Linked DNA regions of Homo sapiens: regions 2, 3, 4, 5, 6 and 7 are each linked to region 1. Evidence: promoter capture Hi-C in human tissues and cell types (Jung and others, 2019). All regions are on one chromosome and are shown on one strand. Each heading gives the region's core, a stretch centred on a gene start or on the middle of the fragment in contact. The rest is flanking DNA. Distances are from core to core; before and after follow the strand shown. Region 1 holds the start of NCOA6 (nuclear receptor coactivator 6). Region 2 overlaps UQCC1 (ubiquinol-cytochrome c reductase complex assembly factor 1). Region 3 has its middle 17 kb from the start of ITCH. Region 4 overlaps ITCH (itchy E3 ubiquitin protein ligase). Region 5 overlaps MMP24-AS1-EDEM2 (MMP24-AS1-EDEM2 readthrough). Region 6 overlaps MMP24-AS1-EDEM2 (MMP24-AS1-EDEM2 readthrough). Region 7 overlaps ITCH (itchy E3 ubiquitin protein ligase).

The links. The method cuts DNA at HindIII sites, captures the fragments that hold promoters and counts their contacts. A contact is called where the count stands out against the background at its distance.
Region 2: a fragment that was not itself captured here is called in contact with the fragment with the promoter of NCOA6 in region 1 in 2 of the 25 tissues and cell types used here (bladder and heart left ventricle).
Region 3: a contact is called between a fragment that was not itself captured here and the fragment with the promoter of NCOA6 in region 1, in 4 of the 25 tissues and cell types used here (heart right ventricle, hippocampus, lymphoblastoid cells and 1 more).
Region 4: a contact is called between a fragment that was not itself captured here and the fragment with the promoter of NCOA6 in region 1, in 1 of the 25 tissues and cell types used here (dorsolateral prefrontal cortex).
Region 5: a contact is called between a fragment that was not itself captured here and the fragment with the promoter of NCOA6 in region 1, in 2 of the 25 tissues and cell types used here (lymphoblastoid cells and mesendoderm cells).
Region 6: a contact is called between a fragment that was not itself captured here and the fragment with the promoter of NCOA6 in region 1, in 3 of the 25 tissues and cell types used here (IMR-90 fibroblasts, lymphoblastoid cells and mesendoderm cells).
Region 7: a fragment that was not itself captured here is called in contact with the fragment with the promoter of NCOA6 in region 1 in 1 of the 25 tissues and cell types used here (lymphoblastoid cells).

Annotation. Positions count from the first base shown.
Region 1 is chr20:34,823,762-34,828,012 of GRCh38, forward strand. NCOA6 (nuclear receptor coactivator 6) reads right to left here and starts at 1,890. Exons shown (of 15, transcript NM_014071.5): 1 at 1,711-1,890. RefSeq lists silencers at 1,357-1,796, 1,807-1,996. The HindIII fragment of the contact is 14,831 bases long and covers 1-4,049 here.
Region 2 is chr20:35,319,393-35,323,643 of GRCh38, forward strand. The region is part of intron 7 of UQCC1 (ubiquinol-cytochrome c reductase complex assembly factor 1); the gene reads right to left. Among named protein-coding and RNA genes, the nearest start is that of FAM83C, 29 kb to the left of the region's middle. The HindIII fragment of the contact is 3,522 bases long and covers 97-3,618 here.
Region 3 is chr20:34,343,886-34,348,136 of GRCh38, forward strand. No RefSeq gene overlaps it. Among named protein-coding and RNA genes, the nearest start is that of ITCH, 17 kb to the right of the region's middle. RefSeq lists a silencer at 432-595. The HindIII fragment of the contact is 6,422 bases long and covers 1-4,251 here.
Region 4 is chr20:34,372,289-34,376,539 of GRCh38, forward strand. All of the region lies in intron 2 of ITCH (itchy E3 ubiquitin protein ligase), which reads left to right. Among named protein-coding and RNA genes, the nearest start is that of ITCH, 11 kb to the left of the region's middle. The HindIII fragment of the contact is 5,475 bases long and covers 1-4,251 here.
Region 5 is chr20:35,247,403-35,251,653 of GRCh38, forward strand. The region is part of intron 2 of MMP24-AS1-EDEM2 (MMP24-AS1-EDEM2 readthrough); the gene reads right to left. All of the region lies in intron 2 of MMP24 (matrix metallopeptidase 24), which reads left to right. Among named protein-coding and RNA genes, the nearest start is that of MMP24, 23 kb to the left of the region's middle. The HindIII fragment of the contact is 6,147 bases long and covers 1-4,251 here.
Region 6 is chr20:35,180,103-35,184,353 of GRCh38, forward strand. The region is part of intron 4 of MMP24-AS1-EDEM2 (MMP24-AS1-EDEM2 readthrough); the gene reads right to left. It also overlaps a transcript of PROCR not described here. Among named protein-coding and RNA genes, the nearest start is that of PROCR, 10 kb to the left of the region's middle. The HindIII fragment of the contact is 9,419 bases long and covers 1-4,251 here.
Region 7 is chr20:34,501,333-34,505,583 of GRCh38, forward strand. It overlaps ITCH (itchy E3 ubiquitin protein ligase), which reads left to right. Exons shown (of 25, transcript NM_031483.7): 24 at 2,999-3,071. Among named protein-coding and RNA genes, the nearest start is that of DYNLRB1, 13 kb to the right of the region's middle. The HindIII fragment of the contact is 4,977 bases long and covers 1-4,251 here.

The sequences.
Region 1 (4,251 bases), core at 640-3,139:
ACCATAGCATGGCTCATTGCAGCCTTGACCTCCCAGGCTCAAGCGATCCTCCCACCTCAGCCTCCTGAGTAGCTGGGACTACAAGTACAAGCCACATCAGGTGGCTAATTTTTTTTATTTCTTTTGTAGAGATGGGGTCTGCCAGCTCCTGGGCTCAAGAAATCCTCCCACCTTGGCCTCCCAAAGTGTTGGGATTACAGGCGTGAGCCACTGTGGCTGGCCGGAGCACCTCTTAAAACTCTAGAAAGTTAGAAGGTCTCAAAGATAACTTCTTTGCACAATTAGAGATGAACCAGGAAATACCAAATAACTGGCTGCCTATACTTTTTTGTATTCCCTTCAGCCTTTGTATTGCCACACTCATTACAGGAAGAAAACAAATTTAATAGTTATCTGGTATATACTGTTATGCTTCATTTCTTGTTGTTTTTGTTTGTTTGCTTTTAGTTTCATCACAAGAATGTTATGCTTCATTTCTTAACACCTTTCTCCCAGCTAGCAAATTCCTTTAAGGCAATGTGTTTAGTGAGGAAGCAGCCGACAATTTCTAGTACCCCTCTGCCACTAACTTGTAAGATCTTGAAAAGTCAACTTTACCTTTCTATGTTTCAGCTAAAATCACTACCTGATTTGAAATCTTTACTTGATCTCTCAGGCCTTTGTAGTTTTTATACATTCACTCTTCTTCACCATTTTACTGGCTTCAATAACGCCTTTCTGATGACCTCTCCAGGTGACTCTGCTCTTAAGCTGTGGGCTGTCCCCTTCCAGGGAAGACACCTTGGGTCACCGCCCCCAAACAGCCAGGTCCCTCCTTTTAAAGACACACACAACTCCCTAAGTTGATAAAGGTTCTCTCCTTCCTTGCCAACCAGTTCCACTCTCTGTGCCTCTTTTGCTGGCCAGCTCCTGCACCCAAACCTCAGTCTCCCTTTGTCCCCCTTTTCTCTCATCAAACACCTCCTTTTTCCTGTTGCTTCCCCCAAGAGGGGGTGGAGGATGCTTGGGACATAAGTCTTCAGAGCCTTGGGAGTTATACAGCTTTGCAATTCAGCCCCAGTACCCCAAGGACTGCCCCAATCTGAACCAGCGTCTGTACCCAAAGGGCCCTCATTCCTCATCAATCACCTCCTTCCCTCCCAGCAAAGAACTGCTCCAGCCCTGACAGCCTGAGCTTGGCCCCCATGCCTCCACCCCAATCCCCAGGTCCTACCTGCATTAGGGCTCTAACACCGCCTAAGGCCTAACCCAGTTCCACGTCCTGCCATCCTCTCAGCCCATAGACCCCAATCCCGGTTCCCTTCGGACCCAGTGTTCCTTCTCCGCGACCCTGACCACGACCCCACGACCGGCTCCCGCCTGTTCCCCAGGCCTGGAGCGCCACCCCGTGCAGACCCCGGCCAGCCCTGCACTCCCTCAGTGCACCGGCCCCCGCGCCCAGCACCCTCCCCACCCAGCCCGGCCGCCGCTCCCTCCAGCGCCCCCGCCCGCAGGCCTGGGGCCCGCTCCCCAACATGGCGACGGGGACACAAGCGCGGCGGGCGGGGCGGCTCCGGGCCGGGCCCGCTCTCAGACCGTGCCACTCGGTCGCCCGGCGCCATTTTTCCGCGCGGGCCCGGGCGGCGCCTCCTCCCCGCGAAGCCAGCCCGACAAGGACCGCGGACGCCCGGCGGGCCCACCCCTTACGGGCCCGCGCCGCCGTCCCCTCACCTGAGCGCGGCCCCGGCCCTCCCGGGCGGGCCTTGGAGCGCCGGCCCGGGCCGTGCGTGCCCGCCGCCCTCGGTGCGTCCGTCCGTCAGTCCTCGCGTGCGCCCGTCTGTCCCGCCGCCCGCGCCCGGCCGCCCGCAGCCCGACCCGGCAGGGCCTCACGGAGCCGGCGGGGAGGGGGATGGGCCGGACCGGGCCGGGGAGGGAGGGGGAGGGAGGGAGAGAGGGAGGGAGCGCGAGAGGGGGCGGGGCGGACTCGAGGGGCGGGGCATTGCCCACGTGACCAGACGTCCCCGGGAGCGCGAGGTGGAGCGCGCGCCAGCTCCCTTCGGTGCTGAGTGCTTAGTGCTGGGATCTCGTGGGTCTCTGTCGGCTTTCCAGGGCTATTCTCTCGCCAGTGAGTCCCACTTCGGAAGCACACATTGCACAGTCTTTTGCGAGCGCTCTGAGTATCCTTGGACATGGCAACTCCAAGCCTCAGTTTACCCATCTGAAATATGGGGAAAATCATAGTGCTTGTGAAGAGCAAATGGAGGTGGGCTTGGAAAGCACTTGTCACCGTGCCTGACACATACTGTCTAATAATAAGCTTAATGGGATATAGATAAAAGCTTTCATTATTATTTGCCTCTAAATCCCTCTCTTCTTTTTCCCATCATTACCTCCCTAGCAAGCTAAAATGCTCAGTAAATAGAATTATTGATCGAACGAGTGTGGCCCCTCCCCTCTTCCCAAACGTAGAAAGGCCTCCTCAGCACTGGACTTCATGTCTGTCATACAGGCCTGGATTCATATCTGGCTTTCACTCTTTTTTAAAAATTTTCTGTTTTTTCCCACACTACACTGATGTATTTTTTAAATTTTCGTAAGTACGTAGTAGGTGAATATATTTATGGGGTACATGAGATTTTGATACAGGCATGCGATGTGTAATCACATCATGGTAAATGGGGTATCTAGCAACTCAAGCATTTATCCTTTGTGTTACAAATAACCCAATTATACTCTAGTTATTTTAAAATGTACAAGTAAATTTTGTGTGTGTGTGGTTTTTTTTTTGTTTTTTGTTTTATTTTTGTTTTTTTGAGACGGAGTCTCACTCCGTCGCCCAGGCTGGAGTGCAGTGGCGCGATCTCAGCTCACTGCAACTTCCGCCTCCCTGGTTCAAGGGATTCGCCTGCCTCAGCCTCCTGAGTAGCTGGTACTACAGGCGCATGCCACCACGCCCAGCTAATTTTTGTATATTTTTTAAGTAGAGATGGGGTTTCACCATATTGGCCGGGCTGGTCAGGAACTCCTGACCTCATGATCCGCCCGCCTCTGCCCCTCAAAGTGCTGGGATTATAGGCGTGAGCCACCGCGCCCGGCCAATTGTTTTTTACTGTAGTCACCTTCTTGTGCTAGCAAATACTAGGTCTTATTCTTTCTAACTATTCTTTTGTACCCGTTAATCATTCCCACTTCCCACCTACCTCCCCATTAATCTTACCAGCCTCTGGTAACCCTCCTTCTATTCTCTATCTCCATGAGTTCAATTGTTTTAATTTTTCGCTCCTGGCCCGGCATGGTGGCTCACGCCTGTAATCCTAGCACTTTGGGAGGCCAAGATGGGCGGATCACCTGAGGTCAGGAGTTCAAGACCAGCCTGGCCAACATGGTGAAACCCTGTCTCTACTAAAATACAAAAGCTAGGTGGGCATGATGGCGGGTGCCTGTAATCCCAGCTACTCAGGAGGCTGAGACGGGAGAATCTCTTGAACCTGGGAGATGGTGGTTGCGGTGAGCCTAGCTCGCGCCACTGCACTCCAGCCTAGGTGGCTGAGTGAGACTCCGTCTCAAAAAAAAATAAAAAATAGTTAATTTTTTGCTCCCACAAATAAGTGAGAACATGTGAAGTTTGTCTTTCTGTGCCCGGCTTCTTTCACATAACATAATGACCTCCAGTTCCATCCATATTGTTGCAAATGACACGATCTCACTCTTTTTTAATGGCGGAATAGTATTCCATTGTGTATATGTACATTTTATTTATCCATTCATCTGTTGATGGACACTTAGGTTGCTTCCAAATCTTGGCTGTTGTGAACAGGGATGCAGTAAACATGAGAGTGCAGATCTCTTCCATACACTGATTTCCTTTCTTTCCGGTGTATACCTAAGAATGGGATTGCTGGATTGTATGGCAGCTCTCTTTGGCTTTCGCTCTTGATAGCTGTCCTTGCCTCTCTGAACTTGAGCATCTTCATCTGTAAAATGGGAGTTGGGGTCTGTTCTGAGCATCCCAGGAGATAGAGGATGAGCAGGTGGATTGTAAACTAATTAAACAAATCAGTCCTACTGATCCCATAGAAGAAAGGGAGTCAGGAACCCTTTCATTCCATCAATATTTATTGAGTACACACAGTGTGCTTGGACTGGTGTAGTAGATACCCACCATCTTTTCACATTACCCTGACCGCCCTCTAATCTATTCTCCACCCTGCTGTCAGAGTAATGTTTCTAATGATCAGAAATATGATCATGTCACTACTCTACTTAAAAGTA
Region 2 (4,251 bases), core at 608-3,107, 500 kb after region 1:
GAGGGGAGTGAGGCTCATGTAACACACTCAATAAATTATCCGTTCATTTTTAAACAAAGTCCATGAGTTATAATATATTTGCCATGCACTTTTTATGACATAATAAAAATGTTACCTTAAGGATTACTTAACACATACTACAAATATTATAGCAGAGGCAGGCACAAGGGGCAAAGAAAACAAACACGAGCAGGCCAGGGACGGGTCCTGGAGTTTATGTCCCAGGGGAAACAGCATAGTATATTAAAAAGGGAATGCAAAAAAAAGGAAGGGATGCAAGAGTTCAGGGTTACTAATCGGCAGATTAATGAATGAGACAACCAACAGAGAACACAAGTAAGGCAATAATGAATCTTGCAGGGCACATGTTTAATTAAAGTAGCATTCTCAAGGAGGAATATTAGCTTTAAAGAGATGCCAGTTCATTTGAGGCCAATTCGCTGCTCTCTTTCCCCTTTTCACTGTTGCTGCCTTAAAGATATTTATGTGACTGCTTAACAGAGGAACCAGACTATGTGGATACAGGGACTGATGGGAGATCAAGTTTTAACTCCTCCATGGACTCTACAAGGCTTCTAGTGATCTGCTCTTGGCCATCTTTTTTGCCTCCCCTCCTCTTGCCTCCCCATCTTACTTCACCCTGCAGTCAGTAAAGTATGTGCACAGATACATCATGCTGTCATCTATTTCTTAGTCATACTGCTGCCAGGAATTCTTCTCTTCTTTATCCACTGATGGAAGGGATGCTAACTCCTTATCCTCTAAGACTTAGCACACATATTTTCTCTACTAAGTCTGCCCTCTCCCCCATCTACAGGTGCCCCAAAGTGATTCAAGTCTGGAGACGGGTCCCATCATTCATTATTTACCAAGTGCCAATAACTGTGCTACAACTTTACACATTAGCCCACTTAAACCTTCCCAAGGACTCTAAGAGACAGGAACTGTTACTGTCTCCACTTTAGAGAAGAGGAATCTGATGTTTGGGAAAGTTAAAGCTAGACAGCTAGGAAATAGTGGGGTCAAGATAAGAATACAGAGCAATCCAACTCCATTGCCTACCTGTGTTGGAATAGACACTGGAAGGAATGTAGCTGCCCCTTCCTGTGCCCCACAGCTCAGGCTATCTGCAGAGGCAGAACTAAGAAATGCTAATGTGGTCTTGAGTAAACACAACTCAGAGATTCCAGTTCCAGTGGCAGCTAGAGACAGCCACCAGATGGGTCATCAGTGGCCGGTTACTAATACATCAGATATCCCTAGTAGAGCCAAGCTCCACTCCTGGGAAAACCTGAGGTTGAGAGTGGGTGTAATTATGGTGGGGGAATGGGAAAACAGAAGAAAGTTGGTATGGAAAACACTGATGAGCATGAAGGTGAGAATAAGCTTTAAGGTTACTGGCTTGAAGCAAAGTTGCTAACAGTAGCAGACTAAGAATTTGCTGGAATGAATGAATGACAAAGGACAGCTAGAGTTGCTGGCTGAAGCCTAAGGACTATATCAAATTCATCATAAGGCAACAATGCAACACAAGATTGTAGGTCATGTTTTAGTTTGCTGTAGTAGACAGTAATGCCACCACCAATGCTTTGCAGTGCCAACGCCATGTTCTACAGTCATTGTGCGGCAACAGGCTGATGTGCACTGAACATCAGCTAGCCTATTTAAAGTTCAGGTTAGAAATTAGCCCACTGTGGAATATTTTGTGAGATACTTAGAAACAGAGTAAGAGTAGACAGACAAGAGAGACGGGGGACATGGAGAGACCAAATAAAAAAGTCTACCTGTTAACTCACATGCATTACGACTGAAAGATCTATTGAGGGTCTTTTAGCAATGATGACAAAATACAAACAAAACTGTGTGTGTGTGTGTGTGTGTGTGTGTGTGTGCGCGCGCGCGCGCGCACGCTCAGGCACGCATGCATATTGAGCAGTTCCAGAAAAAGTTGTTAATACCAAGAATAAAAAGAAAAATATTTTAAATGAAAGACAATTTCTTTTTCTCTTTTTAGAAAATAATGTGAACATTTAAATAGAGTATGTTCCCGTTGCGATGAAAGGCCAACCTAAACCCAGCATGAGGAGGTCCATTTTAAAATCCATTTTAAACATTTCAAACTTTTAATGTACAAGGGAAGCTTGCTATGATGACATGCTGTTTAAAAATATTCCCTTATTGGCTGGGCAAGGTGGCTTACGTGTATAATCCCCATGCTTTGTGAGGCCAAGGCAGGTGGATCACTTGAGGCCAGGAGTTCAAGACTAGCCTGGACAAAAAAGTGAGGTCCTGTCTCTACAACATAGTAATAATAATACAAACCCCTTTCTTATTTATTTTGAAAATTCTAGTTTTGCTGCTTGGGATCTACATGTTCAAGACTGCATAGCCTGATAATGTGCTGAAAAACAAGGGACATGGTTGGCAGACAGAATTGCAGAACCAGCAGCCCTAATTTCTATATAGTCACGAAGTACAGGAGTCCTTCCCTCAGGCTTGGAAAATAGCCAAGAGAGAAGAGATGTATGTCCTCAGAAATTCTAGTCATTTGTCCAGTTGAGAAAACATGAGAACACATAATATTAAGTCCACAATCATCTTCAAAAGGAGCTGATGAGGTACACTACGGTTCTGGGATGATCAAACTACCATGGCAATTTAACTTTCGTCTCTTTTAGGGCATTTGAATAAGGGGAACATTATAGCTATAATCTACTTTGGTTTCTGGAAGCTTTTTGTAGTATTCCACATGACAAGTCTCATGCATACTCATTAGAGAAGCCAACACCTGGCTTGAAAGAGTCGCAGTTTCAACAACAGCACTGATGGTGCGGAGTCCTAAAGGAAATAATCCTGGGTACTATCTAAAATCCGTACTGATAATAATGATGACAGTGATGGTCGTAACAATGATTACACAATGCATTTAATAATATTTTCATTTTATTATCTTATTTGTGCCTCACAACCACAACCCTGCCCTCGAGGAGCTCACAGCCAAAATGCTATTGTTGTCCTGATTCTATAAACAAGGAAACAGAAGCTCAAAACTGTTAAGTGGCCAGGTGCGGTGGCTCACGCCTGTAATCTCAGCACTCTGGGAGGCTGAGGTGGGCCGATAACCTGAGGTCGGGAGTTCGAGACCAGCCTGGCCAACATAGTGAAACCCCATGTCTACTAAAATACAAAAAATTAGCTGGGCATAGTGGCGCATACCTGTAGTCCCAGCTACTCAGGAGGCTGAGGCGGGGGAACCATTGAACCCGAGAGGCAGAAGTTGCAGTGAGCCAAGATTGTGCCACTGCACTCCAGCCTGGCAACTGAGCAAGACTCTGTCTCAAAAAACAAAAACAAAAACAAAAACAAAAACGTTAAGTCACTTGTAGTCAAATCACATCCTGCTTGTAAGTGACAGTGCTGGGACTTTTAACTCAGATGGTCAGTCTCTAAATCTACTGTCTTTTCTTTTTTTTGAGACGGAGTCTTGCTCTGTCACCCAGGCTGGAGTGCAGTGGGACCATCTCGGCTCACTGCAAGCTCCGCCTCCCGGGTTCACGCCATTCTCCTGCCTCAGCCTCCTGAGTAGCTGGGACTACAGGCGCCTACCACCATGCCCGGCTAATTTTTTGTATTTTTAGTAGAGACGGGGTTTCACCGTGTTAGCCAGCATGGTCTTGACCTCCTGACCTTGTGATCCGCCTGCCTCAGCCTCCCAAAGTGCTGGGATTGCAGGCGTGAGCCACCGCGCCCGGCCCCAATCTACTGTCTTTTCTAAGCGATCACACCTTTCTGCTTCTGATGAGTCATATGAGAAATGGAAGAATCACACAAGCACAAAGCTAAAATTGCTCATTTCTGCACTTTGGAAAGCAAGAGTAAAATAGACTCTTTTTAAATTTAGAAAAACTGTCCTTAAAAAGAAGATGAGATTCGACAAGGTCAAATGCACAGTATTATGTCTATATCAAAATAAAAAAATAACAGGATGAAGCAAGGGTCTGACCAAGTAGATGTAATAGCATCCCAGAGCAAATCTTTCTCATGAACAGATAAATCAGAAATATGAAAAGGTAATTATTATTATCTATATTAAAGGAAAAGCCATATGCAAAGGTCAAAAAGTTTTCTCCCCTCATTTATTTTAATAGTCAAAAGTCTTTGTCTTACCAACCGTACTTAAGAATGAACATGGAGAAACCAGAGAGGTTTCAAGAAAGAATGTCAGATATATATGGTTACAATGGGTTGGCA
Region 3 (4,251 bases), core at 1,304-3,803, 480 kb before region 1:
TTTCCTTTTCACCCAGTGAATTCCATTCTCCTCACCCTTCAATGTCTCCACTTTCCTAATTCTTCCTGGTTGTGTGACAAGGACCTGGTTTTAGCTGAACTAAGGAGCAAAGTTCTCAACACCTTTGCCTCCTGAGTAGCTGGGATTGCAGGCTTATGTCACTATACCTGCCACCTTCTTCTTCTTTTTTTTTTTTTAGTTCCTGCATAGTTTTTCTAGTACCATAATTTATCTAGTCCTCTACTGTTGAACATTGACCTTATTTCCAATGTTTACCTATTACAAACATTGTTATGACAAATAACCATGTTCATCAGTTATTTTGTTCATTGCACATTTATCTAAGAGATAAATTTTTAGAGATGAAATGGCTAGGAACCACTGGCTGGTTTTTCTTTTCTTTTCTTTTCTTTTCTTTTTTTTTTTTTGGCGGGGAGGGCAGACAATCAACGTTCCCAGGTTGAAGCCTTTTTTTTTTTTTTTCTTAGACAGGGTGTCGCTCTGTCACCCAGGCTGGAGTGCAGTGGCAGGATCATGGCTCACTGCAGCCTTAACCTCCTGGGCTCAACCAATGCTCCCATTTCAACCTCCAGAGTAGCTGGGACGGCAGGCACATACCAGCACACCCAGTTAATTTTTGTGTATTTTATAGAGACTGGGGTCTCCCTATGTTGCCCAAACTGGTCTTGAATTCCTGGGCTCAAGCGATCCTCCCTCCTTAGCCTCCCAAGGTGCTGGGATTACAGATGTGAGTCACGGCGTTTGGCCGAGGCCTTATATTTGAAGACATCTTTATTTTATTTTATGTATTTTATTTTATTTTTGAGATGGAATCTTGCTGTCGCCGGGCTGGAGTGCAGTGGCGCAATCTCTGCTCACTGCAAGCTCTGACTTCCTGGTTCAAGCGATTCTCCTGCCTCAGCCTCCCGGGTAGCTGGGATTACACGCACGCACCACGCCCAGCTAATTTTTTTGTATTTTTAGCAGAGACGGGGTTTCACCATGTTGGCCAGCATGGTCTTGAACTCCTGAACTCATGATCCGCCCCCGCCTTAGCCTCCCAAAGTGCTGGGATTACAGGCGTGAGCCACTGCGCCCAGCCTTGAAGACATCTTTATAGAGGTATAATTGCCATACCATAAAATGCACACACTTTTAGTGTATAATTGAATGATTTATAGTAAATTTATTGAGTTGTACAACCACCATGACCAGAAAAAACAAACTCAGTTTCTCCCACTATACTCACAACAGGCCTCTGACACAAGATGTATAGGGGTTTTCCCCACACATCAGGCAATCAGTCAGTTCTGCAGTGGACACCAGCTGGGTGTTTTCTAGTCCAAATAAACTCTGATACTATCCACCTGAAAATAACACCAGGTCCCATAGGTTGAGTGCTCAGTCCCCAAGACTATCCTCACTTCAGATGCCAGTAATAAGTCCAGGCCTCCAGAACTTCAAACTAACCAGCCATAAATCAGGATTCCCACAACTCCCTCCCTGGGTTCCATTAATTTGGTAGAGGGACTTACAGAACTCAGGGAAACATATACATTACAAACGCTACAAATAAACAGCCAGATGGAGAGAACAAAGGGTAAAGTCTGAAAGGGTCTGGAGCACGGGAGCTTTTATCCCTATGGAGATGGGGTGTCACCTCCTCCTCCTGCGTGTGGATGTGCTCTCATTCACCTTCCTGGAAGCCTACAGGTGTTCAGCTATTTAGAAGCTCTCTGAACCCAGTCGCTTTGGTTTATAATGGAAGCGTCAGGCTGGGCCCAGAGGCTCACACCTGTAATCCCAGCACTTTGGGAGGCCTAGGCAGGTAGACCACCTAAGGTCGGGAATTCGAGACCAGCCTGGCCAACACGGTGAAACCCCATCTATATTAAAAATACAAAAATTAGCTGGTTGTGGTGGCAGGTGCCTGTAGTCCCAACTACTTGGGAGATTGAGGCACAAGAATTGCTTGAACCTTGGAGGTGGAGATTGCAGTGAGCTGAGATCACGCCATTGCACTCCAGCCTGGGAAACAGAGTGAGACTCTTGTCTCAAAAAAAAAAGCATCATTAGGTAAGCATGATTGATAAATAATTGGCCATTGGTGATTAACTTCACTTAGAGACCCTCCCTGGAGGTTGGGGGTGGGGCTGAAAGTTTCAACCCTTTGAACTAATGGTTGGATCCTCTGGCAGCCACTCTCCCATCCTGTGGTTATCTTGGAACTTTCCCCGAATCCTGTCATTAACATAAATTCTGCCGGGCGCTGTGTCTCACACCTGTAATCTCAGCACTTTGGGAGACCAAGGCGGGCGGATCATGAGGTGAGGAGATTGAGACCATCCTGGCCAACATGGTGCAACCCCGTCTCTACTAAAAAAAAAAAAAAAAAAAAAAAAACAAAAAACTAGCCAGGTGTGGTGGCACGTGCCTGTAATCCCAGCTACTCAGGAGGCTGAGGCACAAGAATCTCTTTAACCAGGGAGGCAGAGGTTGCAGTGAGTGGAGATCGCACCACTGCATTCCAGCCTGGTGACAGAGCGAGACTCCCTCTCAAAACAAAACAAAATATAAACTCAAGTGTGTTTGAAAAGGGATTGTTTTAAATAACAATATTTTTATCTTTCACCTTCTGGCACTGAAGCTATTCCAAGAGGGGTTTCAAAGATCTAGGACAAAAGGCCAAATATTTTAACAAAAGATTTTTTTTTTTTGAGACAGAGTCTCGCTCTATTGCCCAGGCTGGAGTGCAGTGATGCAATCTCGGCTCACTGCAACCTCCGCTTCCTAGGTTTAAGCAATTCTCCTGCCTCAGCCTCCTGAGTAGCTGGGACTGCAGGCATATGCCACCGCACCCGGCTAATTTTTTGTGTTTTTAGTAGAGACGGGGTTTCACCACATTGGCCAGGCTGGTCTCGATCTCCTGATGTCATGATCCGCCTGCCTCGGCCTACCAAAGTGCTGGGATTACAGGCATGAGCCACTGCGCCCAGCCAACAAAATATATTCTTATTGCTTTAGATACTTCCCTTATCCCCCAAGTTGGATTAAATGCTAGCTCTAGGGCTGGGCTCAGTGGCTCACGCCTGTATTCCCAGCACTTTGGGAGGCCAAGGCAGGTAGATCACTTGAAGTCAGGAGTTGGAAACCAGCCTGGTCAACATGGTAAAACCTACCTCTACTAAAAATACAAAAGTTGCTGGGCTCAGTGGCTCACGCCTGCAATCCCAGCACTTTGGGAGGCCGAAGTGGGCTGATCACGAGGTCAGGAATTTGAGACCAGCCTGGCCAGCATGGTGAAACCCTATCTTTACTAAAAATACAAAAATTAGCCAGGCATGGTGGCGTGTGCCTGTAATCCCAGGTACTTGGGAGGCTGAGGCAGGAGGATCGCTTGAATCCAGGAGGCAGAGATTGCAGTGAGCCGATATGGCGCCACTGCACTCCAGCCTGGCCAAAAGTGTGACTTTGTCTCAAAAAAAAAAAAAAAGTGGCCGAGCGCAGTGGCTCACGCCTGTAATCCCAGCACTTGGGAGGCCGAGGTGGGCAGATCATGAGGTCAGGAGTTCGAGACCAGCCTGGCCAACACAGTGAAACCCCATCTCTACTAAAAATACAAAAATTAGCTGGGCATGGTGGCAGGCACCTGTAATCTCAGCTACTAGGGAGGCTGAGGCAGGAGAATCGCTTGAACCCAGGAGGCGGAGGTTGCAGTAGCTGAGATCGCATCACTGCATTCCAGCCTGGGTGACAGAGCTGGACTGTCTCCAAAAAAAAAGTGCTGTTCCATTTGGAAGTCAAGGCTGATGCCACCTAAGTGGGTTCCTGCTATCCTGCTACAAGGAACTTGAAGACATCCTCTTTCTTCATTGGCAGGACATCAAGGGCTCTGGACATTGTGAAAGTTTCCCTTGAAGTTACAATGGGAATCCAGAACAACGTCACATGGACCCCTCCATGGGTAACACAGAAAGCAAATGGTGTCTTTTAAGATACAGAAAAATTTGAATTTTGATGGTTTCATTGACCAATTTTTCCTTTTATAGATTAAGCTTTTGTTGTCATATCTAAGAAATCTTTGCCTAACCCAAGGTCTTGAAGATTTTCTCCTATGTCTTTTTTTTTTTTTTAAGACAAGGTCTCATTCTATTGCCCAGACTGGAGTACAGTGGCAGGATCACAGCTCATTGCAGCCTCAACCTCCTGGTCTCATGCAATCCTCCTGCCTCAGCCTCCTGAGTACCTGGG
Region 4 (4,251 bases), core at 605-3,104, 450 kb before region 1:
AGTGACAGAGGGATACTTTGTCTCAAAAAAAAAAAAAAAAGGCTTCATAATGTCTGATGCTTTATAAATGAGAAACCATGTTATTTTAAGTTCTACTTTTTTTTTTTTTTGAGAGGGAATCTAACTCTGTCACCCAGGCTGGAGTGCAGTGGCGCAATCTCAGCTCACTGCAACCTCCGCCTCTCGGGTTCAAGCAATTCTCCTGCCTCAGCCTCCTGAGTAGCTGGGATTACAGGCACCCGCCACCATGCCTGGCTAATTTTTTGTATTTTTAGTAGAGATGGGGTTTCACCGTGCTAGCCAGGATGGTCTCGATCTCCTGACCTCGTGATCTGCCTGCCTCAGCCTCTCAATGTGCTGGGATTACAGGCATGAGCCACCGTACCCGGCCTTTTAAGTTCTACTTTAAACATTGGCACTGAGAGACCTGTAGGAAACGTAAGTATAGAAAGTTTAAGTTTGTAATATTTGACAAGGATCTGTTGAGCTGCTATTGTGCTAGGTTCCAAGGGGTACTCAAATATAAAACTCCTGGTTTAAGGATTTTGTCAGGAAAACAGACTTCCTTGCCAGTGATTGATTATTATAAAAAGGAAGTTGGTAAATGTTACAAGAGTTTCATTGCATTGCAATTTAAGAAATTAAGTTCAGATTTTTTGGTTCCTTTAACATGATTGAATGTATTCCTTTTTTTTTTTTTTTTGAGACGGAGTTTTTCTCTTGTTGCCGAGGCTGGAGTGCAATGGTGCAATCTCAGCTTACTGCAGCCTCCACCCACTGGGTTCAAGCGATTCTCCTGCCTGAGTCTCCCAAGTAGCTGGGATTATAGGCATGTGCCACCACGCCCAGCTAATTTTGTATTTTTACTAGAGATAGGGTTTCACTGTGTTGGTGAGGCTGATCTTGAACTCCTGACCTCAAATAATCCACCTGCCTCGACCTCCCAAAGTTCTGGATTACAGGCATAAGCCACTGCACCTGGCCAAATGTATTTTTTTTTTTTTTTTGAGGCAGAGTCTTGTTCTCGCCCAGGCTGGAGTGCAGTGGTGTAATCTTGGCTCACTGCAACCTCCGTTTCCTGGGTTCAAGCCATTCTCCTGCCTCAGCCTCCTGGGTAGCTGGGATTACAGGTCCCTGCCACCATGGCCAGCTAATTTTTATATTTTTACTAGAGATGGGGTTTCACCATATTGGCCAGGCTGGTCTCAAACTCCTGACTTCAGGTGATCCGCCTGCCTTGGCCTCCCAAAGTGCTGGAATTATAGGCATTCGGCCTAACATAATTGAATGTATTTTAAGTGCTGCTGTATGCTAGACATTGCAGGGACTTATGGTGAAAAAGCAATCTCTGCCCTCCAGCAACTCGCATTTTTTTTTTCCATGTCTGGAAATTGCTTACCCTAATAGATCTATCCTTCTGTCCCAGAAAAGAGAAGAATTTTAATACTATGTCGTCACTTACAGGTTAAGAATTCATCTACATATTGAGCTTAACTCACTCCAGAAATATCTACTAACTTGCTTGCTTTCTGAGAAAATGTTTATTATTTTACTGGATTCTGCAACCTTTTCTTTGTCAGTTACAAGAGAACATTTTTTTTTTTTATTTTTTTTTAAGATGCAGTCTTGCTTTGTCGCCAGGCTGGAGTGCAGTGGCACAGTCTTGGCTGACTGTAATCTCCGTCTCCCAGGTTAAAGCGATTCCCCTGCCTCAGCCTCCCATGTAGCTGGGACTACAGGTGCCCACCACCACGCCTGGCTAATTTTTTGTATTTTAGTAGAGACGAGGTTTCACCATGTTGGCCAGGATGGACTTTTTATTTTTTATTTTTTTAAGACAAGATAAGCTCCAGAAATAACCATCTGCATTTAGGTGAACTTTGATTTGCTTGTTAGGCCTTCATTCGTGCAAAGAAAGAGTAGGTTCTACAATTTTGTCTTGATTATTTTTCCAAATAATCAAATTTAGTTGGTCACAAAGGAAAGGATTTTAGTCTAAAGGATTATATTGTAGGAGTTAACAGTATTTACTGGAGTTAGGTTGATTTTGAATTTTGACTCTACTGTGTAGTGGTGGTATGATCTTGGCCAACTTGCCTAACTTCTTTTTGCCTTAGTTTTCTCATCTGTAAATTGGGAATAGTAATAGCATATATACATAGGTATTATGTGTTTCTGCTTGAACAAGACTTGGCTCACAGTGTGAAGTGTTAGTCGTTGTTTTCATTATCATCATTACCATCAACCTTATCTTTCTTAAAGTTATGATCTGAGTTCATAAATCATTCAGTAAACCTATTTAGGCTGAGCATTGTAAATTTAAATGCCTGCAAGGGCTGGATGAACATTTAGTAAGTAATGACAGATCAGACTGGGACTTTAAGTGAACTAGGGAATTCATTCCCCTCCAAGGGAGCAGCTGTTAAAGCAGCTTTGGCTTACAATTTTTTTTTTTTTTTTTTGAGACAGAGTTTCACTTTTGTTGCCCAGGCTGGAGTGCAGTGGCATGATCTTGGCTCACTGCAACCTCAACCTCTGCCTCCCGGGTTCAAGCAATTCTCCTGCCTCAGCCTCCCAAGTAGCTGGAATTACAGGTGCTCTCCACCACGCCTGGCTAATTTTTTGTATTTTTAGTAGAGATAGGGTTTCATCATTTTGGCCAGGCTGGTGTTGAACTCCTGACCTCAGGTGATCCACCCGCCTCGGCCTCCCAAAGTGCTGGGATTACAGGTGTCAGCCACCACGCCTGGCGTGATTTTTTTTTTTTTTTGAGACAGAATCTCGCTCTTGTTGCCCCAGCTGGAGTGCAATGGCGCAATCTTGGCTTACCATAACCTCCGCTTTCCGGGTTCAAGCAATTCTCCTGCCTCAGCCTCCCAAGTAGCTGGGTTTACAGGTGTGTGCCACCACGCCTGGCTAATTTTGTATTTTTAGCAGAGACGAGGTTTCTCCATGTTGGTCAGGCTGGTCTGGAACTTCCGACCTCAGGTGATCCGCCTGCCTCGGCCTCCCAAAATGCTGAGATTACAGGCGTGAGCCACCGCACCTGGCCTTTTTTTTTTTTTTTTTTAATGGAGGTAAAAGTAAGTATGTGAGGTTATGTATATGTTATTTAGCTCGATTTAGCCATTCCACAACATGTACATATTTTAAAACATGTTATGGGCTGGTCATGGTGGCTCATGCCATAATCCCAGCACTTTGAGAGGCTAAGGCAGGAGGATCTCTTGAGGCCAGGAGTTTGAGACCAGCCTGGATAACATAGTGAGACCCCATCTTTATTTTATTTCAATAAATAAATAAAACCTGTTTTACATGATAAATATATACCTTTTTTGTCAATTAAAATAATTTAAAAATACTACTTAAGGTCTTGGGAATACACTCACAATGTATTGGTAGTTAAAATTTTTTTTTTTTTTTTTTTTTTTTTTTTTTTTTTTACCAGTTGCTGTGGCTCACTTCTATAATCCCAGCACTTTGGGAGGCCAAGGTGATAGGATTGCTTGAGCCTCGGAGTTTGAGACCAGCTTGAGCAACATAGCGAGATCCCGTCATTATATTTTTCAAAATTAAAAAGGAAAGTTTTCAGAAGGTTAAAAAAAAAATTGAGGCAAAATTCACTACTTTAAAGTGTACAATTCAGTGTTGGCTTACTATTGACCTTGGGGAGAGTGCAGACCATGTGCAGACTGAACATCTTAATTTTTTTCTAAGGAGAAGCTAGAAATCAAGATTTTGTAAGAAATTTTTATTGTTAAATGTTGGCAACTTATGAATTCATAGTGTAAACACTGTGGGCCAAACAAATTACCACTGTGGGCAGAATTTGTCTTGTGGCTTGCTGCTTTACAACCTCTGATCTGGGGCTTGACTTTCTGCAGCATAACCCATGTTTTCTGCCCTCTGAGAAGAAAGTTCTTACCCACGTAAAGATTTAACCAGCCTCGGCAGCATGGTGAAACACTGTCTCTACAAAAAAGCCTCATAAAAATCAGCCAGGCATGATGGTGGTGTGCGCCTATTGTCCCAGCTGAAGTGCAAGGGTCGCTTAAGCCCAGGAGGTTGAGACTGCAGTGAGCTCATGTCGCTGCACTGATATCATGTCACTGATATGTCACTGCACTCTAGTCTGGGCAACAGAGTGTGACCGTGTCTCAAAAATAAATACATAAATAAATAAATAAATAAAACAGTTCAAACAATACCTCAAAGCAGTCTAGTACTGAATGAGAGGTATGTAGAATAATT
Region 5 (4,251 bases), core at 775-3,274, 420 kb after region 1:
CATGTGCTGGGTGCCTGCATGTGCCTGTCATCCGGCCCTCCAGAGGCTCACCATTTAGTGACAAATACAGTCATCTAGCCACACCAGTCTAGAGCTCAGAAGGAAACAATGAGTTTTGGGGAGACACTTAGGAGGTAGTAACACTTAGGAGGTAGAAAAAAGCCATGAGGATGGTCCCAATCACTCAAGGAGAATGTAAAGATTCACGGGCAGGGTGCTGGGGATGGAACCCCACAAAGCCAGCCGAGAAGGGGCAGCCGGAGGGCAAGAAGCCTGACGTGATGATGTGATGCAATGTCATGATGCCACATGGTGTGGGGTGGTCAGTGGGGCCAGCCACTCCAGAGCCCTCCAACAGGAGCATGGCTGAAAGTTGTCTGCTGGGTTTAGTGACAAAGAGCTTGTTGTTAACCTCAGCAGAATGGTGGAGATGAAGTCAGACTGAAGTGGGGAGAAGCGGAGGTGAGGAGAAGAGGTGGCAAGTGGAGGGAAGACATTCAAGAAGCTTGACAGGGAGGTGGGGAGAAATGGGTAGCAGCTAGAGGATGAAGTTTTGTTTGTCTAAGATAGGAGAGAGTTGAACAGCCTTAAACTTGCTTAAGAAAGCTATGAGAGTTGTTTAAGAAAAGCCATTCACATCATTAAAGCATGGAAAAGAACAGGAGTGAGTTTCCTAAGGAGGTGGGAAGGGAGGGGAACCTGAGGCAGGTGGAAGATGCTAGCAGGGCTGGGTGAGGATCCAAGGGAGTTGGTGGGGGGAGGAACAGGAAATGCACCCAGTTGTGGATCAAGGATCAATTTGACGTAAGTCACTCCTGGACAGAATCATCTCTCTGGGTCTCAGTGTGTTCATTTGCAAAGGAGGGTGTTGGATTATGGCTCTAAATTCTAGATTCCCCCCCCCTTTTTTTTTTTTTTGATGAGATGAAGTCTCGATCTGTCACCCAGGCTGGAGGGCAGTGGCGTGATCTCGGTTCACTGCAACCACTGCCTCCAGGGTTCAAGCGATTCTCCTGCCTCAGCCTCCCAAGTAGCTAAGATTACAGGCATGTACCACCATGCTGGCTAATTTTTTTTGTATTTTTAGTAGAGATGGGGTTTCACCATGTTGGCCAGGCTGGTCTCGAACTCCTGACCTCAGGTGATCGGCCCACCTCGGCCTCCCAGAGTGCTAGGATTACAGGCGTGAGCCACCGTGCCCAGCCTAGATTCCATTATTTTAAGCATCTAAGCTTTTAAAACTTGGCAAGTCTGGGGTTTTAGGATCCTAAAATCCTGTGTGAACATTTCCCATTCCTAGGATTCTCTGATTATGAGTGTGAACTTCTTCTCCTGTGCTGTTGTGAATACAGTGGACTCCTTGGCCCCGTGGTCTCCAGAGTGGGCTGGTTAAAGAGAGCCCAGCCGCCTTTCAAAGCGGAGGTTATTTTGAGGGCTTTGCACAGGCCTCATGGCAGTGCATCCTGGGGCAGAAGCACTGGTGTCTCTGCTGCGGCACCACCTGGCCTTGGGTTTTACTCTGTTCCAAAAAGCCCCAGGCCTGTTGGATGGCGCTCAGAGAGTGGCAGGTGGATGGTGAAAGGAGGAGGCAGCGGGAATGATCCGAGGGAAAAGGATGGCATTTCCCACTTGCAGTTCTGCCCACACCTCCTTGTAGAAGGCGGGGGAGTTGTGGTCTGGAAGCAGGGGAAGGAGGAAGCCAGTTGCACTTATTAATCCAAGACCTGAGATGGGGAGTGTTCAGGGTAGAATTTAGAGCCCCAAGATGCAGCTCCAGCTCTGTGACCTTGGGCAATGGCTGCCTTTCTCTGAGCCTGTTTCCTCCCCTAGGTGCCTTTGGGTCTAACTCAGTCAGAGGTGGTTCTTGGTTCCCTTCCCAGGGACTGTTAATTAAAGGAAGCTAGATTAGCCATTTAAAGTCCTATGTTTGAGTGTCGCCTTGGGAAATGTCACACATTTATTCATTCACTCATTCATTTGGTCAACAACATAGTTCCTCTAGCTCAGCTTTGTGCTAAGCACTGACAGGAAAAAATAAAAGCTCCAGGCTTTGTTAAATTGCATTAATGAATAGTTCATTTTTTCATTCAACTAAGTTCCAGTCCTGCCTTGCTGATTTCTGTGTTTTGCAAGGTACTGGATTTATCTGTGGATTGTTTCCCTCATCTGTGAAATGGGAATAATAATTTCTTTTTTTTTTTTTTGAGACGGAGTCTCGCTCTGTCGCCCAGGTTGGAGTGCAGTGGCGGGATCTCGGCTCACTGCAAGCTCCACCTCCTGGGTTCAAGCCATTCTCCTGCCTCAGCCTCCCAAGTAGCTGGGACTACAGGGGCCCGCCACCACGCCCGGCTAATTTTTTTTTTTTATTTTTTAGTACAGACGGGGTTTCACCATGTTAGCCAGGATGGTCTCGATCTCCTGACCTCGTGATCCGCCCGCCTCGGCCTCCCAAAGTGCTGGGATTACAGGTGTGAGCCACCGTGCCTGGCCCGGGAATAATAATTTCTGTTACCTCACAGTGTTGTTTTGAGAATCAAACTTTTTTATTTTATTTATTTATTTATCTATTTATTGAGACAAGGTCTGACTCCCCTCACCCAAGTGTACTGGTGTGATCTTGGCTCACTGTAGCCTCAACTTTCCAAGCTCAGGTGATCCTCCCACCTCAGCCTCCCTAGTAGCTGGGACTACAGGCACATGCCACCATGCCTGGCTAATTTTTTGTATCTTTAGTAGAGATAGGGTTTTGCCATGTTGCCCAGGCTGGTCACAATCTTCTAGGCTCAAGCAATCTCCTGCCTCAGCTTCCCAAAGTGCTAGGATTATAGGTGTTAGCTACTGCACCTGGCCAAGAATTAAACATTTTAAAAGAATGTGCTGGGCGCAGTGGCTCATGTCTGTAGTCCCAGCACTTTGGGAGGCCAAGGTGGGCAGATCACCTGAGGCTAGGAGTTCAAGACCAGCTTGGCCAACATAGTGAAACCCTGTCTGTACTAAAAGTACAAAAATTAGCCAAGCGTGGTGGTGCGCGCCTGTAATCCCAGCTACTACTCAGGAGGTTGAGGCAGGAGAATTGCTTGAACTTGGGAGGCAGAGGTTGCAGTGAGCTGAGATGGCACCACTACACTCCAGCCTGGGCAACAGAGCGAGACTCTGTCTCAAAAAAAAAAAAAGAAAGAAAGAAAGAGAAATACCTGAAACTGGGTAATTTATAAAGAAAAGAGGTTTAGTTGGCTCAGGGTTCCACAGGCTTTACAGGAAGCATGGCTGGGGACGCCTCAGGAAACTTTCAATCGTAGTAGAAGGCAAAGGGGAAACAAGCACATCATCATATGGCAGGAGCAGGGGGAAGAGTGAGAAGGGGGAGGTGCTCCACACCATTAAACAACCAGATCTCATGAGAACTCACTCACTATCAGCAGAACAGCAAGGGGGAAGTCTGCCTGCATGGCCCAATCACCTCCCACCAGGCCCCGCCTCCAACAGAGACACAAATCAAAACATATCACCTGGTAACAAACAGATATCAGGATTTACGTAATTTCAGGCACTGGGCTACCTTCTTTTGAGGATACAATGATGAATAGGACATAGTTCCTGTCCTCAATTTACCATTTATTAGAGGAAATAAACCAATAAATTTTAAATCACAACACAATATAATAAGTGCTGCAGAGAATTATGTTCCACATCCCACAGTTGTTAAGCCACTTCTTTTTTTTTTTTTTTTCCTGAAACGGCATTTCACTCTTCTTGCCCAGGCTGGAGCACAATGGCACAATCTTGGTTCACTGCAACCTCCGCCTCACGGGTTCAAGCAAGTCCCCTGCCTCGGCCTGCTGAGTAGCTGGGATTACAAGTGTGAACCACTGCAGCTGGCTAATTTTTTTTTTTGTATTTTTAGTACAGATGGGGTTTCACCGTGTTGGCCAGGCTGGTCTCGAACTCCTGACCTCAGATAATCCACCCGCCTCAGCCTCCCAAAGTGCTGGGATTACAGGCGTGAGCCACCGTGCCCAGCTGAAGAGTTTGAATTTTATTCTCAGTGTTTGGGGAAGTCGCTGGAGGCTTTTAACCAGGGCATCCTGTAATCTCATTGCATTTACAGAGCATTTTCACATGTACTTCCTCCTTGAAGACGCACCTCCACCTAAGACCAAGAACTAGAGTTCTCATGTTGCAGAGGAGGAAACTGAGGTTCATATTGGTTCAGCCACTTGCCTGGGGGTCCTATGACTAGTGGTGGAGCTG
Region 6 (4,251 bases), core at 687-3,186, 360 kb after region 1:
GGGCGCGGTGATGCACGCTTGTAATCCCAGCTACTAGCAGGGGCTGAGGCAGGAGAATCTCTTGAACCCAAGAGGCAGAGGTTGCAATGAGCTGAGATCTCGCCACTGCACTCCAGCCTGGGCAACAAGAGCAAAATTCCATCTCAAATAAATAAATAAATACATAAATAAGAAAAAAAAGACTTGCCGTTCAGCTATAGGGGGAATAGCCAGCAGATAGCTTCCGCTTGCTTCAGTTCTTTCAATGTCTGCCTCAGCTGTAGAGGACAGTCCTGCACAAGATCATGCCCATCCCAGGGCTGCCCTCACTCGGTGCCTAAGCAAGGCAGGGGTATAAAAGTTCGGTCATTTTGGCCAACTGCAGGACAACTCTGAGAATAGGTTGGATTGACAAGGGCTAGCCAGGGCTGGAAATATTCACTCCAGAGCTCCCTGCCAGGGAGGCTGGGTCTTTGTCAGATCTGCATTGCCGTTTGACTTCTCTCTTAGCTCAGCCCTACTTCTTCCCCCTGGTAAGCATCTTGCACCTCAAACTCTGTCTCAGCCTCTGCTTCCAGATAACCCAACTTGTGTGTGTGTGTCTCTCTCTCTTTCAAAATTGAGAAATTTTCTCAATCTTGTCTGGACCATGGCAGCAGCCTCCTCCTAAGAAATTGCCTCTAATTTCTCCATATTTTAATTCATCTTCTACATGGCAGTAAGAAACACAGATCTAATTGTGTCATTATTCCGTTTTTTGTTGTTGTTTGTTTTTTGTTTTTTGTTTTGTTTTGTTTTGTTTTGAGACAGAGTCTCTCTCTGTCACCCAGGCTGGAGTGCAGTAGTGTGAACTTAGCTCACTGCAACCTCTGCCTCACAGGTTCAAGCAATTCTCCTGCCTCAACCTCCCGAGTAGCTGGGATTACAGGCATGTGCCACCACGCCCGGCTAATTTTTTGTATTTTTAGTAGAGTCGGGGTTTCACCATGTTGGTCAGGCTGGTCTTGAGCTCCTGACCTCAAGTGATCTACCCGCCTTGGCCTCACAAAGTGCTGGGATTACAGGCGTGAGCCACCACGCCTGGACTGTTTTTTAAATTTCTCATTGAGTTAAATTCAGAATCCTCAAAATGACATTCAAGGCCTTGCACAATGTGGCCCCAACCTAATTTTCTAATTTAATTTTAATTTAATTTTATTTTATTTTATTTTGAGATGGAGTCTCACTCTGTCACCCAGGCTGGAGTAAAGTGGTGCGATCTCTGCTCACTGCAACCTCCACCTCCTGGGTTCAAGCTATTCTCCTACCTCAGCCTCCCAAGTAGCTGGGATTGCAGGCATGTGCCACCACGCCCGGCTAATTTTTGTATTTTTAGTAGTGACGGGGTTTCACCATGTTGGTCAGGCTGGTCTTGAACTCCTGACCTCATGATCTGCTCTCCTTGGCCTCCCAAAGTGCTGGGATTGCCGGCGTGAGCCACTGTGCCCGGCCCCTCAAATTTTATTTTCTACCATTTCTCTTTAGCCACTGTGCCTTAGATTATTTATTTTAAAAGCATATTTTTAAATGACGGAAGTGGTACAACAACAGCAATAACAGAGAAGTTTACAAAGAAATTTCATAAAGGAAAAACGGAACGCCTCCTGCTTTCTCATTCTCCCCAAATCCTTACTCCAGAGGTATGCTAAGATTATTAGTTGCAAGCAACAGAAACCAATTCTGCCAACTTAAGGGGAAAATAAGTATATTGGAAGGTTATTAAGTAATCCTCAGAGTTGATGGGAAAGCCAGATAATCAAGCTCAGAAAGTAGAACCAGGGACCACAGCCAAAGTCACACCACAGGAATGGTATTAAGGATGCCACAGCTGGAAGCACTACCTCCATCACCAATGCTGCTGCCATATTAAAGGAATTCTCCTCTGACCCTGTGTCTTTACATCATTTGTTCAAGAGTCAATATCCTGAGTGGAAGCAGCCAAATGACCAAGCCTTGATCATGTTGCTTTTGCCTTAGCTGCAAGTGCAGGGGGGAAAAGGAAAACTTTAGATACCTTTGACTTCTCTTGTGGGAGGTGAGAACCTGTCTCCCATTAAGACTCACACAGAGGAAGAGATTTCAGATGCTGGGCAACCAAAACAGGTACAGGTGATTTTAAAGAATTGATGCAAATGAGAAGCCTGGAGATCAGTAGCCACTGCTGTATTTACTAACTCTACATATATTATCTTTTTTTTGAGACAGACTCTTGGTCTGTTGCCCAGGCTGGAATTGGTGGCACGATCATGGCTCACTGCAGCTTCAACCTCCTGGGCTCAAAAAACAGAACAAAAGAAAAATAAAATAGAAAAGCAAAAACAACAAAAACCCATAAATGTTCACTATATCTCACATCATTAATTTATTTACTCGTTTAATAAATGTTTGTCAGAAACTTCCATATAGAAGGCTTTATGTTATGTACTTTGGAAGACACAAAACGATTAGGATATGATCCTTCTCAAGGAGCCCAGTCTTTTCTTGGGAAGATAAAACATACAAAAGAGAACAACACAAGGCAAGATGCATTGTATAACTAGAAGAAACACACAAATAAAAATGTGATGTTATGTGGCCGGGCATGGTGGCTCACGCCTGTAATCCCAGCACTTTGGGAGGCTGAGGTGGGCAGTTCACCTGAGGTCAGGTGTTCGAGACCAGCCTGGCCAACATGGTGAAACCGTCTCTACTAAATATACAAAAATTAGCCAGGCATGGTGGCACGTGCCTGTAGTTCCAGCTACTCAGGAGGCTAAGGAAGGAGAGTAGCTTGCACCCAGGAGGCAGATGTTGCAGTGAGTTGAGATCGTGCCACTGCACTCCAGCCTGGGCGACAGAGCGAGACTCCGTCTCAAAAAAAAAAAAAAAAAAAAAAAAAAGGAAAGAAAGAAAGAAAAATGTTATGCTCTGATTTACTCTTGTAGCTATCATTTACATATTGCTATATAGTTTTTGGAATTCTGTAACTTGCGTTTATCATTTAATACTCTCTTTGGTCTTGTAAGATAGATATAATCATTTTAGATTAGGAGACATGTTTAGGGAGAATAAGAAAGTTAATAACTGATATGGTTTGGATGTTTTGTCCCTCCAAATCTCATGTTGGAACGTGACCTCCATTGTTAGAGATGGGCATAATGGGAGGTGTTTGGGTCATGGGGGCAGATCCCTCATGAATGGCTTAACACCATCCTTTAGTGTTGAGTGAGTTCTTGTTCAGTTAGATTACACATGAGATCTCGTTGTTTAAAAGGATCTGAGACCTCCCCTCCTCTTTCTTGCTTCCTTCTGTCTCATCTTATATGCCTGCTCCCCCTTTGCCTTCCAACATGATTGAAAGCTTCCTGAGGCCTCACCAGAAGAAGATGCTGGTGCCATGCTTCCTGTACATCCTGCAGAAGTGTGAGTCAAAAATAAACCTCTTTTCTTTTATAAATTAGCCACTTGCAGGTATTCCAGTATAGCAGCACAAGAATTGACTAATATAGTATCAGAGCTAGGATTCAAACCCGTGCCTTTGTGTTCTAGGATTTATGCTTTCTCTCCTCTACTAAAACTGCAGGAATCAGAGGAATCTAGGGGAGAAACATGGTATTTGTGAATTGGTGAGATATGACCATGCCCAGATAGGAAAGATAGACAGAACAGATTCAATAATGAAAATAGGAAAAAGCAGAGTAAATTTTAGACATTTCTTAAAGAAGATACACCAGTGGCCAATAAGCACATGAAAAGATGCCCAACATCGTTATAGTCATTATGGAAATGCAAATCAAAACCATGAGATACCACTTCATACCATCAAGAATGGCTATAGGAGGATGGATAGAATCAATATTGTGAAAATGACCATACTGCCAAAAGCAATCTACAAATTCACGCAGTCCCCATCAAAATACCACCATCATTCTTCACAGAGTTAGAAAAAACAATTCTAAAATTCATATGGAATCAAAAAAGAGCCCACATGGCCAAAGCAAGAGTAAGCAAAAAGAACAAATCTGGAGGCATCACACTACCTGATTTCAAATTATACTATAAGGCCATAGTCACCAAAACAGCATGATACTGGTATAAAAATAGGCACATAGACCAATGGAACAGAATAGAGAACCCAGAAATAAACCCAAATACTTATAGCCAACTGATCTTTGACAAAGCAAACAAAAACATAAAAGTGGGGAAAGGACACCCTTTTCAACAAATGGTGCTGGGATAATTGGTTAGCCACAG
Region 7 (4,251 bases), core at 931-3,430, 320 kb before region 1:
TTTTTAGGTAATTTATAATGAAATAATATGTGTTTTAATACATGTCTATTTGGGGACAACTATGTTAGAAGATATACCTAAGAAGTCAAATATTTGTTCCTACTTATAAGAAAAGGTTTAAGACAAGATCAAAAGCCATTCTCTATAAGAAGTACTGGAAGGGCTGAGTGCGGTGGCTCACGCCTGTAATCCCAGCACTTTGGGAGGCTGAGGCGGGCGGATCACCTGAGGTTGGGAGTTCGAGACCAGCCTGACCAACATGGAGAAACCGTATCTCTACTGAAAATACAAAATTAGCCAGGCGTGGTGGCACATGCCTGTAATCCCAGCTACTCAGGAGGCTGAGGCAGGAGAATCGCTTGAACCTGGGAGGCAGAGGTTGCAGTGAGCCAAGATCGTACCATTGCACTCCAGCCTGGGCAACAAGAGCGAAACTCCATCTCTCAAAAAAAAAAAAAAAAAGACAAGTAGTACTGGAAAATAAAAGAACAGATGAGAAAGATAAATAATAGACTTAAGTATATGTGATAACAAAAGGAGGGAAGTAACCTAAATAAAGTATGAATAATACACCTGCAAAAATAAATTATAGATGGTCAAGGTGGAGAAAAATGAGGTAGATCTTAAAAGCATAGTATCAGAATATATCTCCTGTCATGAAATTCTACTATAGGCCAAGGCTCTAACATGTAAAAAAGCCTCGGAGACCATAACATTTGAAAGGTGGCTGAAAATAGGAACATAGGTACAAAAGTCTACACAGAAGTTGTATGGTTTAGGGACAGTGTCAGAGTTTTTAATATTTGATTTTAAATCTATTAAAAGCAATTCAGAATCCTTTCTGTTACATACTAATGTGCATTATTAAATGAAACTCCTTTCCATCTATGTAGTTAAATATGCTGCTAGGTATGGTGGGCACACATCTGTAGTCCCAGTTATTTGGAGGCTGAGGCAGGAGAATTGCTGGAGCCCAAGATTTCAAGCCTGTAGTGCACTATAACTGCTTCTGTGAACAGCCACTGCACTTAAGCATGGGCAACATAGTGATACCCTGTGTCTTAAAAAAAAAAAAAATTTATAAAAAATGAAATGTGACCAGGTACAGTGACTCACACCTGTAATCCCAGCACTTTGGGAGGCCGAGACGGTTGGGTCACTTGAGGTCAGGAGTTCAAGACCAGCCTGGCCAACATAGTGAAACCCCATCTCTACTAAAAATACAAAATTAGCCGGGTGTGGTAGTGGGCACCTGTAATCCCAGCTACTCGGGAGGCTGAGGCAGGAGAATCACTTGAACCTGGGAGGCGGAGGTTGTGGTGAGCCAAGATTGCTCCACTGCACTCCAGCCTGGGAGACTCCGCCTCAAAAAAAAAAAGAAAATGCTATAAAATATTGAGTAGAGGGTGGACATGATGGCTCATGCCTGTAATCCCAACACTTTGGGAGGCCAAGGTGGGTTGATCACTTGAGGCCAGGAGTTCAAGACCAGCCTGGCCAACATGGTAAAACCCCATCTTTACTAAAAATACAAAAATTAGTTGGGTGTGGTGGTGCACATCTGTAATCACAGCTACTCTAAGGCATGAGAATTGCTTGAACCCAGGAGGCGGAGGTTGCATTGAGCCAAGATTGTGCCACTGCCATCCAGCCAGGGTGACAGAGTGAGACTCTGTCTCAAAAAATATATATATTGAGTAGAGAGAACATGCAGAGTGAGTTAATTTTAATTTATGTGTTGAACACCACAGAATAATTTTAACTGTGTTTTTTTATAACGTTTCCTATATTACTGGACTTTTTACATAACTACTTGTGAAAACAATTCAGTGTTATTAAATACAAAAGCACTAACAATTTATATTGGGTATACTTAGTATACAGGGTTTAGTCAGGTGGGACATGAGAAAGTTCTTTGTGTCTGACAGTGTCACACATTACAGAACAGTTAGCGTTCCTGCCCCCTTCTAATTAAAATATCTAGTAGCATTACCAGTCATTGAGACCAACAATAAATGCTTCCTAGGGAAAAGTAATGATCTTTTAAAAAACTGGTGTTTTTATGATCACTTTTCACAGCTATCTCCAGCAGCAGGTAAATGAGGGGCAAGTATTTTATGTTTATACTTGTATCTGTTTTTGTAAGGGTATGCCCTACAGGACCTGTAAGTTCCAGCATTAATAATATGGAATTCACTAGGATATTTACATTTCACAAAGTTTTATTAATTCTGTATTTAAATCAAGTTTTATTGTAGTTTCGTTATTGTCTTTCAAACTACTAAAATTAAGCTTTTTGTGTGTTCTTGTGTAAGCTTTTATTAATCATAACAATGTGTTATTCCGGCTAAAGAATGCTAGATGAAACTGCATTTTCTCCTTTGGGACTTATATTAACAAACTATAGTCTTCAAACTTTTACACTTACCAGAATCACCCGGAAGCTTGTTAAAGCACATATTGCTGAGCCTGACCCCTAGAGTTTCTTTTTTGTTTGTTGGTTGCTTTTGGGTTTTTTGGGTTTTTTTTTTTTTTTGGTTTTTTTTTTTTTGGTTTTTTTTTTTTTTGAGATAGGGTCTCGTTCTGTCACCCGGGCGAGAGTGTAGTGGCGCAATCTTGAGTCACTGCAACTTTGCTGCACAGATTCAAGCAATTCTCCTGCCTCAGTCTCCTGAGTAGCTGGGATTACAGGCATACGCCACCACACTTGGCTAGTTTTTGTATTTTTAGTAGAGATCAAGATTCACCATATTGGCCAGGCTGATCTTGAACTCCTGACCTCAAGTGAGCTGCCCACCTTTGCCTCTCAAAGTACTGGGATAACAGACATGAGCCACCACACCTAACCCAGAGTTTCTGAATTAGTAAGATGATGTGTGGGGCCTGAGGATTTATGGTTCTAACAAGTTCCCTCATGATGCTGATGCTTGTTGGATTGGGGAACACAGTTTGAGATCCACTATACTAACAAACTGTTTATGATTTCATTATGTTTTAGGGAGCAATGGACCACAGAAATTCTGCATTGAAAAAGTTGGGAAAGAAAATTGGCTACCCAGAAGTCATACCTGGTAAGTACAATCAGAATGGATAGAGAAAACAGCTTTTGTCCAGTTATCTGTAGCTATTTAAAGCCAGCTAGAAATTAAAAATGATATTTAGTAGATTTACAGAATAGCACAGCCATCATAGCAATCCAGTTTAAGAGCATTTTGTTCACCCCTGTATGATTCCTTACAACTATTTGCAATCAATTCCTTTTTTCACATCTGAATTTTTTTTCTAATGTGGGATTTAGAGTTATTTTAACTTTTCTCTGAGGGCAGCAAAAGAAAGTTAGGAGACCTACTTTCTAACATCATGACCACAAATATTCTCATTTGAAATCTAATTACATTTCTAAAAATGTAGAAAACTAAATCTAATCCTAATCTGACAGCAAATATATTAATATTTTGGAATTCAACCTAATGTCAACAATATTTGAACCTTATTTTGTGGGATATATTTTAGTGGTCACATATGGTCCTTCCTGGATATCTGACCTCTTTACTGTTTTACTAATGTCTATTCCTTTTTGTTTTTATACATAATGTTTTGTACATGCATGTAGTGTTTAAGTAACAATTTTATTGATATATAATTTACAGATTATAAAACTCACCTTCTTAAATTATGCAGTTCGGTTCAGTGGGGTTTTTTTGTTTGTTTGTTTGTTTGTTTGTTTTTGAGACAGGGTCTCACTTTGTAGACCAGGCTGGAGTGCAGTGGTTTGATCTCAGCTCACTGCAACCTCCGCCTCCCAGGTTCAAGCAATTCTCTTGCCTCAGCCTCCCAAGCAGCTGGGATTACAGGCGCCCGTGACCACGCCCAGCTAATTTTTGTATTTTTAGTACAGATGGGGTTTCGCCATGTTGGTCAGGCCGGTCTCAAACTCCTGATCTCAGGTGATCCACCCACCTCGGCCTCCCAAAGTGTTGGGATTACAGGTGTGAGCTGCCGCATCTGGCCTGTTCAGTGATTTTAGCATATTTATGAGGTTATGTAAGCATCATTACTGTCTAATTCCAGAATTTTTTCACCCTCCCAAAAATCCATGTACCCATTAGCAGTCACTCCCTTTTTACCCCGTGTAGCCCTTGGTAACCACTAATCTACTTTCTGTCTCTATGAATTTTCCTGTTCTGGACATTTCATATAAAATGAATCATACGATAAATATATAACTTTTTTTTTTTTGGAGACAGTCTC